2 separate regions of the Homo sapiens genome follow, and region 2 is linked to region 1. The links are contacts of gene promoters, found by promoter capture Hi-C in human tissues and cell types (Jung and others, 2019). All regions are on one chromosome and are shown on one strand. Each heading gives the region's core, a stretch centred on a gene start or on the middle of the fragment in contact. The rest is flanking DNA. Distances are from core to core; before and after follow the strand shown.

The links. The method cuts DNA at HindIII sites, captures the fragments that hold promoters and counts their contacts. A contact is called where the count stands out against the background at its distance.
Region 2: a fragment that was not itself captured here is called in contact with the fragment with the promoter of KIF3C in region 1 in 1 of the 25 tissues and cell types used here (stomach).

What each region holds. Positions count from the first base shown.
Region 1 is chr2:25,979,336-25,985,702 of GRCh38, forward strand. KIF3C (kinesin family member 3C) reads right to left here and starts at 3,162. Exons shown (of 8, transcript NM_002254.8): 1 at 1,038-3,162. The coding sequence starts at 2,582. RefSeq lists enhancers at 405-914, 915-1,423, 1,933-2,441, 2,442-2,951 and silencers at 2,941-3,100, 3,241-3,410. The HindIII fragment of the contact is 11,133 bases long and covers 1-6,367 here.
Region 2 is chr2:25,831,704-25,838,070 of GRCh38, forward strand. It overlaps ASXL2 (ASXL transcriptional regulator 2), which reads right to left. Exons shown (of 13, transcript NM_018263.6): 3 at 3,835-3,837. Among named protein-coding and RNA genes, the nearest start is that of ASXL2, 44 kb to the right of the region's middle. The HindIII fragment of the contact is 3,251 bases long and covers 2,391-5,641 here.

The DNA.
Region 1 (6,367 bases), core at 1,912-4,411:
AGGTCCTGACATCTCTCAGGGTTATGGGGAATTGGATATTAACTGTGATGAGGCCTCGGGGCAGGGGTCGGTTGGCTTGCTGCTCAGATTAATATAGGCCATAGAATTATCAGATAGGTAGAGCCTCAGAGATCACCCAGGCCAACCCTCTATTTTACAGAAAGGTAAACTGAGGCCTGAGAAAAGAGAGAAGCAACTTACACAAGGCCACTCAATGAGCTGTAGAATGGCTAGGCCAGTCTCTTGGTCTCTGGTATAGAGTTTGGTGCTTTTTCCACCCTACCTCCTGCATAACCCCCAAATCTCTTTCCTAATGATAGCAAGCAATGGCTCCTGCACTGTAAGGCCCAGGGGACCATTTTCCCAGGGAGCAGAATCTGTTCATGGTCCCACTTTGCCCAGCTAAGAACTGAAACAGCATGAGGTCCATGGGTTCCAGCTCAGCTCTGCCACTTCATAGGATGGAACCTTGGTCACGTCACTTCTCCAAGCTTTAATTCCTCACCTCTGAAATGGGGATTTCAGAACTGTGACCCTGGATGGCCAAAGGATCCAATGAGATCATGTATGGATCATATATATGGGGCATTTTTTGAACTGAAGCACTAACCAAATGATATTATTAAAACGACGTGAGGTTTGAAGATGCTGCAGAGGGAGGAAGCCTCAGGGGAGGAGGCTGTGAAGGAACAAGAACCCACATTCACAAGAGGCTGCCTGGCCATCCCACAGACCTGACTGATCCTGAGGCCACCAGCAGGAAATGCCCACAGCAGGTCAGACCACCCCAAGCTCACTGGCTTGAGAGACCGCCTGTCCACGTTGCTTCGTGTGTGTGTGCCTGTGCATGTACCTGGCAGCCCGGTATCACAGCAATTTGCCTGGCTGCTCTGGGGGCACATTTGGCAGGAGGGCAGTGTGCGGTGCTGAGGGAGAACCTCCACTTCAGGCCAGGTCACAGACTCTCAAAGAAGAGCCTCCTTGCCGGGATCCCCTGCGGGGACATCTCGAGTGCCCAGCTCCTCTGGGGCCCTTACCTTGTACTTGGCCGCAAGCAGCTCTGTGGCCTGCTGTTCCCGCCGCAGGTCCTCCAGCATCTTCTCCTTCTCCTCCAGCAGCTTCTGCTTCTCCTCGCTCACCAGGCTGCGGTCATCCTGGATGGCTGCCTTCTCCTCCTCCAGCCGCTCCTTCTGTTCCTGCAGGTAATTCTCCATGTTCTTCTCCAAGGCTGACTCCAGGATGGGCTGGGGCGGGCGGTGGTTGTTGTTGTTGTCATCCTCCTCTTCTGCCACCCAGGCCTCAATCACTGGGCCCTCAGGGTACCCAGGCGGGGCGGACACGGCCTTCTTCCTGCGGCTGCTCTTCCTCCGGGGCCGCTTCCCCAGCATCCCCCTCTTCTCCAGCTGGGCCTTCAGGCGGGCAATCTCCTCTTGGAATTCCCGCAGCAGTGTGTCCTTGGGGTCCTCGTTCACCCGGGGCTTGTTCTTGATGTTCTTGGCTCGGTTGGCAAAGCGCAAGGTGGAGAGGCTCTCATCGTAGCTGTGAGAAGCTGGCCCCAGTGTGGCTACCATGATGGTCTTGGCATTCCCCCCCAGGGAGTCCTGGAGCAGCCGGGTCAGCTTGGAGTCCCGGTAGGGAATGTGGGTGCTCCTGTTGCCCGCCAGGGCAGCAATCACGTTGCCCAGGGCAGATAATGAGAGGTTGATTTTGGAGGCTTCCTTAGGCCTCTCTCCACCAGCACCACCACCACTGCCTCCACCGCCACCACCGCCACCCGAGGATGGTGTGGCTGCCCCTCCCGCTGTGTTGGGGCCTGCCTTGTTCTGCCTCTCGCTGCCAGCCAGGTCCACGAGGTTGAGCTTGCCCACTCGGATGTGGTCCTGGCCATCAGAGCCACGTTCGCTGCACTCCACAGTGATGATGAAGATGGCATGGGAGCGGGAGCTGACCTCATTCATGTGGGTGCTGCCCACAGCCCGGGTCTGGTTCCCCAGGTTCATCACATGCTCAATCTCCTTGACATTCTTGGTGACGAAGGAGGAGAGGTCCTTGATGTAGACGCCAGTCTCGGGGTTCTCTTTCAGCTCTAGCCTCTTGCCCGGCTCCTTGGAGAGCAGGTCTCGAATCTCTTCCTGGTAGATCTCCAAATAGGAGGCCCGGACCAGGTACTGTTGGTTCTGGGAGCGGGAGATGTGGGTGAAGATGTGCTCAAAGGCATTCGGGATGACCCCGCGCAGCTCGGGCTCCACCCAGGTCCCCTGCATGGTATAGGTCTTGCCAGTGCCCGTCTGGCCATAGGCAAACACCGTGCCATTGAAACCCTGGAGCACGGAGTCTATCAGGGGCCTCACGGTTTCGTCATACAGGTCGGCCTGCTTGGAGCTGGCATCATACACGGCGTCAAAGGTGAAGGTCTTGGGCAGCTCCCCCGGGGCGGCGCGGGGGTTCCGCAGGGTCACCTGGCCCAGTTTCACGTCCATGGTCAGGATCTGCTCGTGACCAGCAGCCTCCTCCTTCCTGCTGAGGGGGCGGCACCGGGCCACCACCTTGAGGGCCTCGCTGGCCTTGGTCTTACTGGCCATCTTGCTGCTCTGACCTTCCTGCCCCCGAGCCCCTCCGCAGCCTGGGCGGTCCTGCTATCCTGCTCGCTAGGTCGGGATCAGCGGGGCCGGCCCAGCCCCCAGGCGCAGCTCTTCAATCCGCATGCAGCCTCCTAGGGTGGGGACGCTGGGAGGTGGCCCCAACGCTGCTGCAGTCCGGGCCTCCACCGCTCTCCGGTCCTCTCTGCACCGGCTGGGAGGTGAATTAGGCAGAATCCCCCAGTCGCCGCGGGAGCAGCGCCTGCCGAGCAGCCGTGCCCGGAGCCCGCCCCATGCAGGAGCAGAGGGAGCGCTGCCGTAAACAGCTTCGGCAACAATGAGATAAAGGAAGAGGAAAATGGGATGGGGGTGGGCGGCGAGCTGTCTTCTCCTCCTTCCTCTAGGGATCCATAGCGTGGGCTGCCGGTCGTGGGCGGCCGGGGGTCCCGGGCCTCCCGAGGGCAGAGGCTCACCTGGAGTCCTCCCCCCAAGCTGGGGGATCATTCATTGCAGCCAGCGCGGCTGCTGCTGCCTCTGCCTCCGCCTTCCCCGCCGCCGCCACTGGAGAATGAGAGAGAAAAACAGAAGGGGATGGGGCGGAGCAGCGGCAGCGAGAGTGATGTTGCCGCCGCGCTGCGGCCCCAGCTAAGCCTCCCGACTGGGGTGGGGCAGGGGGCGGGGCCGCGGGGCGGGAGGCGCGAGCCCGGAGCGGCCCGGGTGCGGGGGACAGGGGCGCATCGCCGTCTCTGCACCCCCGCCGACCGCTCCGGGATGACAGGCTCCGGTGCCGACCCAGGTCCTGCGCCCACCAGTCGGGTGCAGCGCAGCCACCGCCCGCCGTCACCCCACCGAGCCCGAGCATGCCGGGAATTGTAGTCCTGCCTTTGTTAACCGGGTTCTGGCAGGTTGCTAATGCCTTTCCCGGTCCCCCAGTCCGGGAGGCGCCTCCCTCATCCGCATGCCACCCCTTGAGTGACTGCTGAGCTTGCACCACCTATGCCTGGTCCCTCCGAGCCACCATCCTCGGACACCCCCCTGCTCCTGCCTTTCTGCCTGCAAATGGGTGCGCGTCACCCCTCCCCGTCAGGGTGTCGCCAGGCCTCCGGGAACCGAACTCCTAAATGTTCCTTGACTCTGTCCTTTCCTCCCCCTGTCCCGGTCTACTTCTGGCCTTCCTCTTCTCTCTGCTGGAGCCCACCTTCCAGCTGATTCTCTCGCACCTTATGTCCGCACAAGCACCCGGGAGCCCCCTCGCTCCTCCTCCACCGCCTTCCTTGTGTGAAAGCCTCTCCATCTTCCGCCTTCGCAGCCTCACCGCCACTACTCCTCTATAGAAAAATCTGTGTTCCAGACAGCCATTTCTTCAGTTATCCAGCGCCTGCTGAGCCCCAGGCCCCATTCTAGGATCTGGGTCCTTCCTGTCCTCAAGCAGTGCACATTCCCGGAACCGTGTTTTGTTTCTTTAACTGGCTTTGCTGTGCAGCATCTTTGTGCTTTTGCCCAGAGGCCTGGTCACCCTTCGGCACTTAGTGCCCTGCCACTTGGGCAGTTCAAGCACCTCCTCCTCCACGAAGCCTTCCCTTAGCAATTTTTTTTTTTCTATAGTGAAAGAGGCACAGAATTTACCTAAGACAAAACCTGGATTGAAGTTCCAGTTCTGATGGCCATCCAATGGAGTGGCTTTGAGCAGTCACTCCCCTTGCTCCAGCCTTAGTTTCCTCATTTATTTTTTTAAAAATTCGAGGCGGGAAAGAAATAATTAACAACTACTTCATGGAATGGTTGGGAGGCTCAAATGAAATAATGAATCATGAAGTACTGTACCATGAGAAGTCCTGCCCTGGCTTGGATTGCCTGACAGCTCCTGCTTCCTTGAGTATCCTGGATAGACCATGTCTGTGCTTGGTGTTCCTCTATGGGAGTCTTAATCTTTTTTTTTTTTCCTGTAGGATACAAATAAAGTGTAATTCCACAAGGCCAAGGACCAAGCCAGAGTCCTATCCATGGTCCACTCTGCAGAGGGCAGTTGAGTCTGTGGACTGAGCCCAAGCTGTCTGTCTTTACTCTCCATATGAGAACCAGATTGAGAGGTGCTGTTATCTGAAACCTGGAGACCCTTCTTCACAGAGGCACCAGAAGAGTCTTTCCACAAAACATTTCCAAGCATGTTATCCTCTAGAGGACCCAATTGTTTAGTTTTCCAACTCAACAAAATTTACCTCCTTAACTCTTCCCCATCCCAGAACTTTAGCGTGAGCTGGACTAGAGGCTTGAGACTTAGCTGAGAGCTTGCCCGCTTCTGAAGCTCCCTGGCCTCCCTCCACCCTCTCCTTGATTAAGCTCCACTGCTTATGATTAACATGGCTTTTGGACCAATTACGGGGTGGGGTTTTGGCTCCGTAGACTAACCCCTCTTGGCTCTCACAACATGATTTCTGGATGGAGCCTTTAGTTCTTCAACTATTTTCTGGTTGCATTCGGCTTTGGGTTTTGAATACCCTTTCTCTGCTTAGGCTAATGTATCTGACACTACAGCGCTGGATAAAAGGGATTCTCACCCTGTTCTCCCCACTTGATGTCACCACCTGGCAGGGGACTTACCCAGATCCTCTTGTGTGAGAGGGAGATTGGAATCGCGTTGCTTACAAGATGTGTGATCCTAGGCCAGGCGCGGTGGCTCACGCCTATAATCCCAGCACTTTGGGAGGCCGAGGCGGGTGGATCATGAGGTCAAGAGATCGAGACCATCTTGGCCAACATCATGAAACCTCATCTCTACTAAAAATACAAAAATTAGCTGGGCATGGTGGTGCACGCCTGTAGTCCCAGCTACTTGAGAGGCTGAGACAGGAAAATAATTTGAACCCAGGAGGCAGAGATTGCAGTGAGGCTAGATGGCGCCACTGCACTCCAGCCTGGCGACAAAGCAAGACTCCATCTCACACACACAAAAAAAGATATGTGATCCTGGGGAAATTATTTAACTTCTCTGAACAGCTATTTTTTCAGTGGAATAAATGAGGATAAGAATGCTTACATTGACCAGGTGTGGTGGCTCAAGCTGTAATCCCAGCTATTCAGGAGGCTGAGGTAGGAGGATCGCTTAAGCCCGTAAGTTCAGGGCTGCAGTGAGCGATGATTGTACCACTGCACTCTAGCCTAGGGTAACAGAGTGAGAACCTGTCTCTGAAAAAAAAAGAGGGCTTACCTTACACATCAGGATTAAGTGAGATAATGTATGCAAAAACTCCTACGACATAGGAGGCACTCCAGAAATAGCAGTTTTCTTTTCTCTTGTCCTTTGCATTCAAGGCTGTTCACTTCAGCGTCTCCATTTTCACCGCTGTCTTCATTTTTCCTTCCTCTTACATACTCAAGTCTCCAGCCACTCTGATTAGCTTAAGTCCCCCAAACACACCCCACTTTTTTGTGTCTCCTTGTGTTTGCTCATGCTGCTCCTCTGCCCGAAATGTCCTAACTTTGTTTTTATTTCAATTAATTTATTTGAGAAGGGGTCTCATTCTGTCACTCAGGCTGGAGTGCAGTGGTATGATTATGGCTCACTGCAGCCTCAAACTCCTGAGCTCAAGCTATCCTCCTGCCTTAGCCTCCCGAATAGCTGGGACTACAGTTGCATGCCACCACACCTGGATAATTAAAAACAATATTTTTTTAGGCCGGGCGCGGTGGCTCACACCTGTAATCCCAGCACTTTGGGAGGCCAAGGCAGGGGGATCACAAGGTCAGGAGTTCGAGACCAGCCTGACCAACATAATGAAACCCTGTCT
Region 2 (6,367 bases), core at 2,766-5,265, 150 kb before region 1:
AGTAATAAAGAAAAATGAAGAAATAAACCTACAGATTCAAGAAACTCAGTGAATCTAAATAGGATAAATCTAAATAAGTCCACCAAGATACATCATAATTAAACTTCTGAAAACTAAATCCAAAGAAAAAGTCCTGAAAGCAGAGAGAAACAACACATTACTACAGGGAAACACCAATTCAAATGACAATAGATTTCTCGCCTAAAACCACATAGGCCAGAAGGAAGTGGCATGACATTTCACTAGTGCTGAATGAAAAGAACTGTCAATTGTGAATTCTATATCTGATGAAACAGCTTCAGACTAAGTAAAACTAAAAGTAGTTTACTAAGAGAAGTAGAACTATTCTTAAAGAATGACTAAAGGAAGTCATTCAATAGAATGGAAATGATAAAAGAAGCAATCCTGTAGCACCAGGAAGAAAAAACAGAAAGAACAGGAATAGGTATATACCACAGACTATGCTTCTCATAAATTTTATAAATCACATTTCATGACTGGAACACAAATGTTAATACCATCTCATACTCAAGAATCTAAATGGAAGTACGGTTTCCACACTTCACTTAGAGTGGTAAAATGATTATCAGCAGACTGTGATAAATCACGTGTATATATTGTAATACCCAGTTGAAACAGTTAAGAAAAGCATGTAAAGACATACAAAGAAATACAATACTATAAATAAATCAAGACAGAATCCTAAAATATGATCCATGAGGAAGTCAAGAAAAGAGAAACAGAGGAATGAGAAATAGAGGAAACAGAAAACAAAAAAACAAAAAGGCAAACTCACCTATCAACAATTACTTTAAATATAAATGGTGTAAACACACAAATTAAAAGGCAAGGATTGGCAGCATGGGCCAAAAAAAAAAAAATTCTAAACTATGCAGTTTACAAGAAATTCATTTACAGTTTCAAGGTGTCTTTAAAATTAAACATGCACTTACCACACAACCCAGCAACAGCACTTTCTGTACATTTATCCCAGAGAATGGAAAATGTATGCCCATACAAAAACATTTACACAAATGTTCATAGAAGTTTTATTTTTAATAGCCAAAGCCTGGAAACAATTCAGATATCATGCAACGGATAAACAGTTAGAAACGGTCGCACGTCCATGTCAAAGAATACTACTCGGCAATAAAAAAGAATGAACTATGAACACAATAACTTGGAGGACTCTCCAGAGACATACAATGAATGGGGGCTGCGGGGGGAGCCAATCCCAGATGGTTACATACTCTATGATTCCATTAAACACTTGAAATGACAAAATTATAGAAATGTAGGACGGACTAGTATAAGGAAGGGGGGCAAGGGGTACTAGGGAAGTACATGTGGTTTTAAAAGGGGAACACAAGGGATATTTGTTGAAAGTATTCTGTATCTTGTGTGGTGGTAGGTACATGAATCTATACACGTGATAAAACCACATAGCACCCTATACACACATACACACACCCCGGTACCAGTAAAACCAGGTGGATTATATCAGAAACAATATTCTCGCTGTGACACTGCACTATGGTTTTGTACAATGTTACCATTAGGAGAATCTGCATAAAAGGTTACTTCCTACAACTGCTTATGGCTTACATTTTTCTGTTGTACTTTAATTTTCTATAGTGAGCAATGGACAGCTGTTGTTTATTCCTGGCCAATATCCATTCCCTCTTCTTCTGCAAAGAATGCTCAATTTTGGCTGGGCATGGTGGCTCATGCCTGTAATCCCAGCACTTTGGAAGGCTGAGGTGGGCAGATCACTTGAGGCCAGGAGTTTGAGATCGGCCTGACCAACACAGTGAAACCCCATCTCTATTAAAAATACAAAAAATTAGCTGGGCGTGGTAGCGTGCGCCTGTAATCTCAGTTACTCAGGTGGCTGAGGCAGGAAAATTGTTTGAACTCAGGAGGCAGAGGTTGCAGTGAGCTGAGATTGCACCACTGCACTCCAGCCTGGGCAACAGAGCAAGACCCTGTCTCAAAAAAAAAAAAGCTTAATTTTGCTTTGGGGAACTATGCCCTCCCCTACTGGAAATAGTCTTGGTAAGACTGTCCATCAAGATATCTCACCATCCCTGGGCACTGGGCCAACCAAGTTCACTCTTCCCTTAAAGTTTAACCTTGAGCAGAGTAGACAATGACTAATTTAGCCCAGCTGCAGTGTCTTGATGAGACTATGCATTAGTTCTATCTACCTGATCTCTGAAGCTGCCTTCCTTCTCCTAATTTCAGAGCCCGTTTCTTGCCTTTGAGTCTGAGTCTTGCCTCTGCTCCCATATTCTTTAAATAAATCTTGTTTTGCTTAAGTTATTCACATTTGGTTCCTATCATTTGCACTTAAAGAACCCAATCAATGACCAGGCGCAGTGGCTCACGCTTGTAATCCCAGCACTTTGGGAGGCCAAGGCGGGCAGATCACTTGAGGTCAGGAAGTCAAGACCAGCCTGGCCAGCATGGTAAAACCCCGTCTCTACTAAAAATACAAAAAGTAGCCGGGGTTGGTGGCAGGCACCTGTAATCCCAGCTACAAGGGAGGCTGAAACAGAAGAATCACTTGAACCTGGGAGGCAGAGGTTGCAGTGAGCCGAGACCATGCCACTCCACTCCAGCTTGGGTGACAGAGTGAGACTCTGTCTCCAAAAAAATAAATAAATAAATAAGAACAAATCAAATACATGCTCCCTTCAAACAAACATAACACAAAACAAAATATACCTATTTTATTTTTTAATTATAATTTTAACTTTGTAAGACCTTAATTAAGCTTTCATCCACAAACTCTTGCTTACAATAAACAGGTTCTTACAAATGAACTTAATGGACTACAAATATAACTAGAGTTAAAAAGACTAACTACGCTCTAATTATAACCCAAGCATGCCATGTCCAAGTAACATGAAAATACATGGGCATGACTGTTGCCCTCAAGTCTCACAGGCAATACGACTGTTGCCCTCAGGTCTCACAGGCGTGTAACACGGGAACTGCTATAGTGGAGGTGAATCTAAAAGGCCATGCCCACACACAAAAAGTCAATTCAGTAAAGGATCCAGACTGATTTTTAACCCATTCTGCCCTGGTTTTAAGTATCATGCCCCTAAAGGATTTACCAATTTTTTTTTTTTTAGACGGAGTCTTGCTGTGTTGCCCAGGCTAGAGTGCAGTGGCATGATCTCGGCTCACTGCAACCTCCACCTTGTGGGTTCAAGCAATTCTCCTGTCTCAGCCTCCCGAGTAGCTGGGATTACGGGCGCCGGCCACCACACCCAGCTAATTTTTGGATTTTTTAGTAGAGATGCAGTTTCACCATATTGGTCAGGCTAGTCTCGAACTCCTGACCTCAAGTGATCCACCCACCTCGGCCTCTCAAAGTGCTGGGATTACCAGGTGTGAGCCACCATGCCCAGCCGATTTACCAATATTTTATCTAAATTAAGAGCACAAACATACATTTTCAATCTTACAGCCATAAAGCAAATGTTAATATACATGTTTCCAGTCTACTAAATACTTTCATTATTACTCTGCAGAATACTTGGCATCCCAACGCTTTTATAAGTCAAATGTTGATTTTAATAAACCTTAATGTAGATCGGATTTCTAAACTTATGATCAAACAATAATTACAAACTGCAAGAACCAAACAAAGCACACTTAACGAATAAACACTAACATAATAATATCGATATTACTTAGTTTCTGGACTAATTATTTAGTTTTATAAAGTAAAACTCATGCATCCAAAGGTAAGTTCAATTAAATTTATAAAAGTGTGCTTTATAATTGCATAATACTTCTTTAGAATAAAGTAATACTTCTTACCTTCTGGAGTTGGAATGCAGTGCAGGAAAATGAAAGAAGGAAAAAAAAAGCTTTTAATTTTTCTTACAAAGCAACAATAAAACCAAAAATTAAACTGTCCCTTCCCATCCCAGCAATATCCACAATTCCCCAAATTAGTAACCCCCTCATTAATTTCTTCATTAAAATTTATAAATTAGCCAAAAATATCATATCAAAATGTCTAAAGATAAACAAATTTAGCTAAACAGTCTAAACTACTTCAGAAAACAGTTGCAGTAATTTGATTATGTAACAGAGTAAAACTGTTAGGGCATTTAAATGTGGATACAATGAATACTTCCCATTCTTTAATATTCTTCCCATGCATTTCAATTTCAAGGAGCCATCATAACGCCATCAGCTGTGGACTTAAGGTTTATTAGCTTCCCTGTGATACATAATGGAGCTCTTATGGATCTGAATTACAATGGATAAGAATACTCTTTTCTGTCAATATCCAAGCATTTTGTTGTCATTTTTTTCATTACTAATCCTTCTTGACATCCCTACCAGGTTTGTGGGCTTGAAAGCAGATTGCAACTAACAGATAGGGAAGATGGCTGGGCACAGTGCCTCATGCCGAGGCCAAAGCAGGATTGCTTGAGCCCAAGAATTCAAGATGAGCCTGAGCAACATAGTGAGACCTCATCTCTACAAAAAATATTTTTAAAATGTTTAAAAAGAAAAAGAGGAGGAAGATGCAGGCTTAACCACAAAGGAATCCTCCAACCTTAGATATATTATCAATACAAATAATGTTCTTCATTCTAAAACTAAGCTCTTTCTAATGAAATCACTTCAAGGCAATTCAGCTTGGCAAATAATCAAATGATCTACTCTGCAGGGATAAGGATTTCTGCTGAAAAGTAGTAGAGAATATTGACTTTATTTCCCTTGCTATATACACTTTTGCATGTGGAGAGATATGGGAAAAAAAATAGGTGCTCTGATTGGTTTTTAGTATAAAGTAAGCTAAAACATATAACCTTAAATACTGTATGAAAGAGATTATTTTCTTCATAAACAAATTAGTACTAATCAGATGTCATTAGGACTCCCCCAGACAGAGGTAAAATCTCAGTCTCTAAAATGTTTATTGAGCATAATCTTTGCTGGGTGGTTCCCAGAGTTCTTTACAATCTAGGCAGTTGGCCACACTCATTCATTAGCTATATAACTTACTCACCTATACTAATCTTATAGTGTGAAAGATTCAAACTCACCACAATTACTAATTATATATCATGAACCCTTGGGATCACTCATGAATGGTCTAATTCATAAAATGCCAAATTTGTGGACAATAAATTCACGAACAAATAATCTTCCTAATTTATTTCCCCTCTTCTATTCATGAATGGAAAGACAAGAAAAACTAGTCAGAGAATAGGGTCTCAAGAACTGAATATTTTACTATTTTTCTCTTCTTTCCTAAAAACTCTATTTCTCTATTAGCTGATAGAAGAGTCAAGATATTACAGTTAATAAGACGAGCAAAGCAGGTTAAGGAAACTCCAAAGGGGGGTGGGGGGGGGGGGCGTGGGAAGCACTAAAGGCAATAGCTACTTCAGAAGGAAGGCATTAAGTCCGACACTTAATGCTATAAAAGCACATCTGTAAACACTAATGGCAGCCACAGCTGATGGAAGGGAAAAACCTATTGTATATCTAGCCTAAGCACAGAAGTAGTAATGAGTAGTTACAGTAAAGAATTAATAGGCATGGTTTCAAAGAATATTCAGGGCGTGTATTCTGTCAACAGTGTGTAGGCTTAATGTGTAGATTTAATTGTTCTATTTTTTGTAAGCCAGAATATCCAAATTGCATACAACTAGTCTCAAGTTCTTATCTGTTAGATATAAAGTGACATATTCATGTGATAAAATGACTGCAATTTATTTCAGAACAGCCCAGGGTGTAAATACTATTTATAGTTTATGATGGAGGATGTATCCTTTTGTTTTTACAATTTTCGAAAAGTAAAAATTTATATTTTAAAAAAGCGTCTTCAGGCCAGGTACTGTGGCTCACATCTGTAATCCCAGCAGTTTGGGAGGCCAAGGTGGGAGGATCCCTTAAGCCCAGGAGTTTGAGACCAGCCCGTGCAACACAGAGACCTTGTCTCTACAAAAAATTTAAAAATTAGCCAGGCATGGTGGTGTGTGCCTGTGGTTCCAGCTACTAGGGAGGCTGAGGTGGGAGAATCACTTGAGGCTGGGAGGTTGAGGCTGCAGTGAGCCGTGATTAAAAAACAAAATAAAACAAAACCAAGAGGCGGCCAGGTGCAGTGGCTCATGCCTGTAAACCCAGCACTTTGGGAGGCCGAAGCAGGCAGACCACTTGAGTCCAGGAGTTCAAGACCAGCCTGAGCAACATGGCAAAACCCTGTCTCTACAAAAAAAAAAAAAAAAAAACACAAAAAATTAGCCAAGCACGGTGGCGCACGCCTGTGGTCCCAGCTACTTAGGAAGTCAAGGCTGCGGTGAGCCATGATCGTGCCACTGCACTCCAG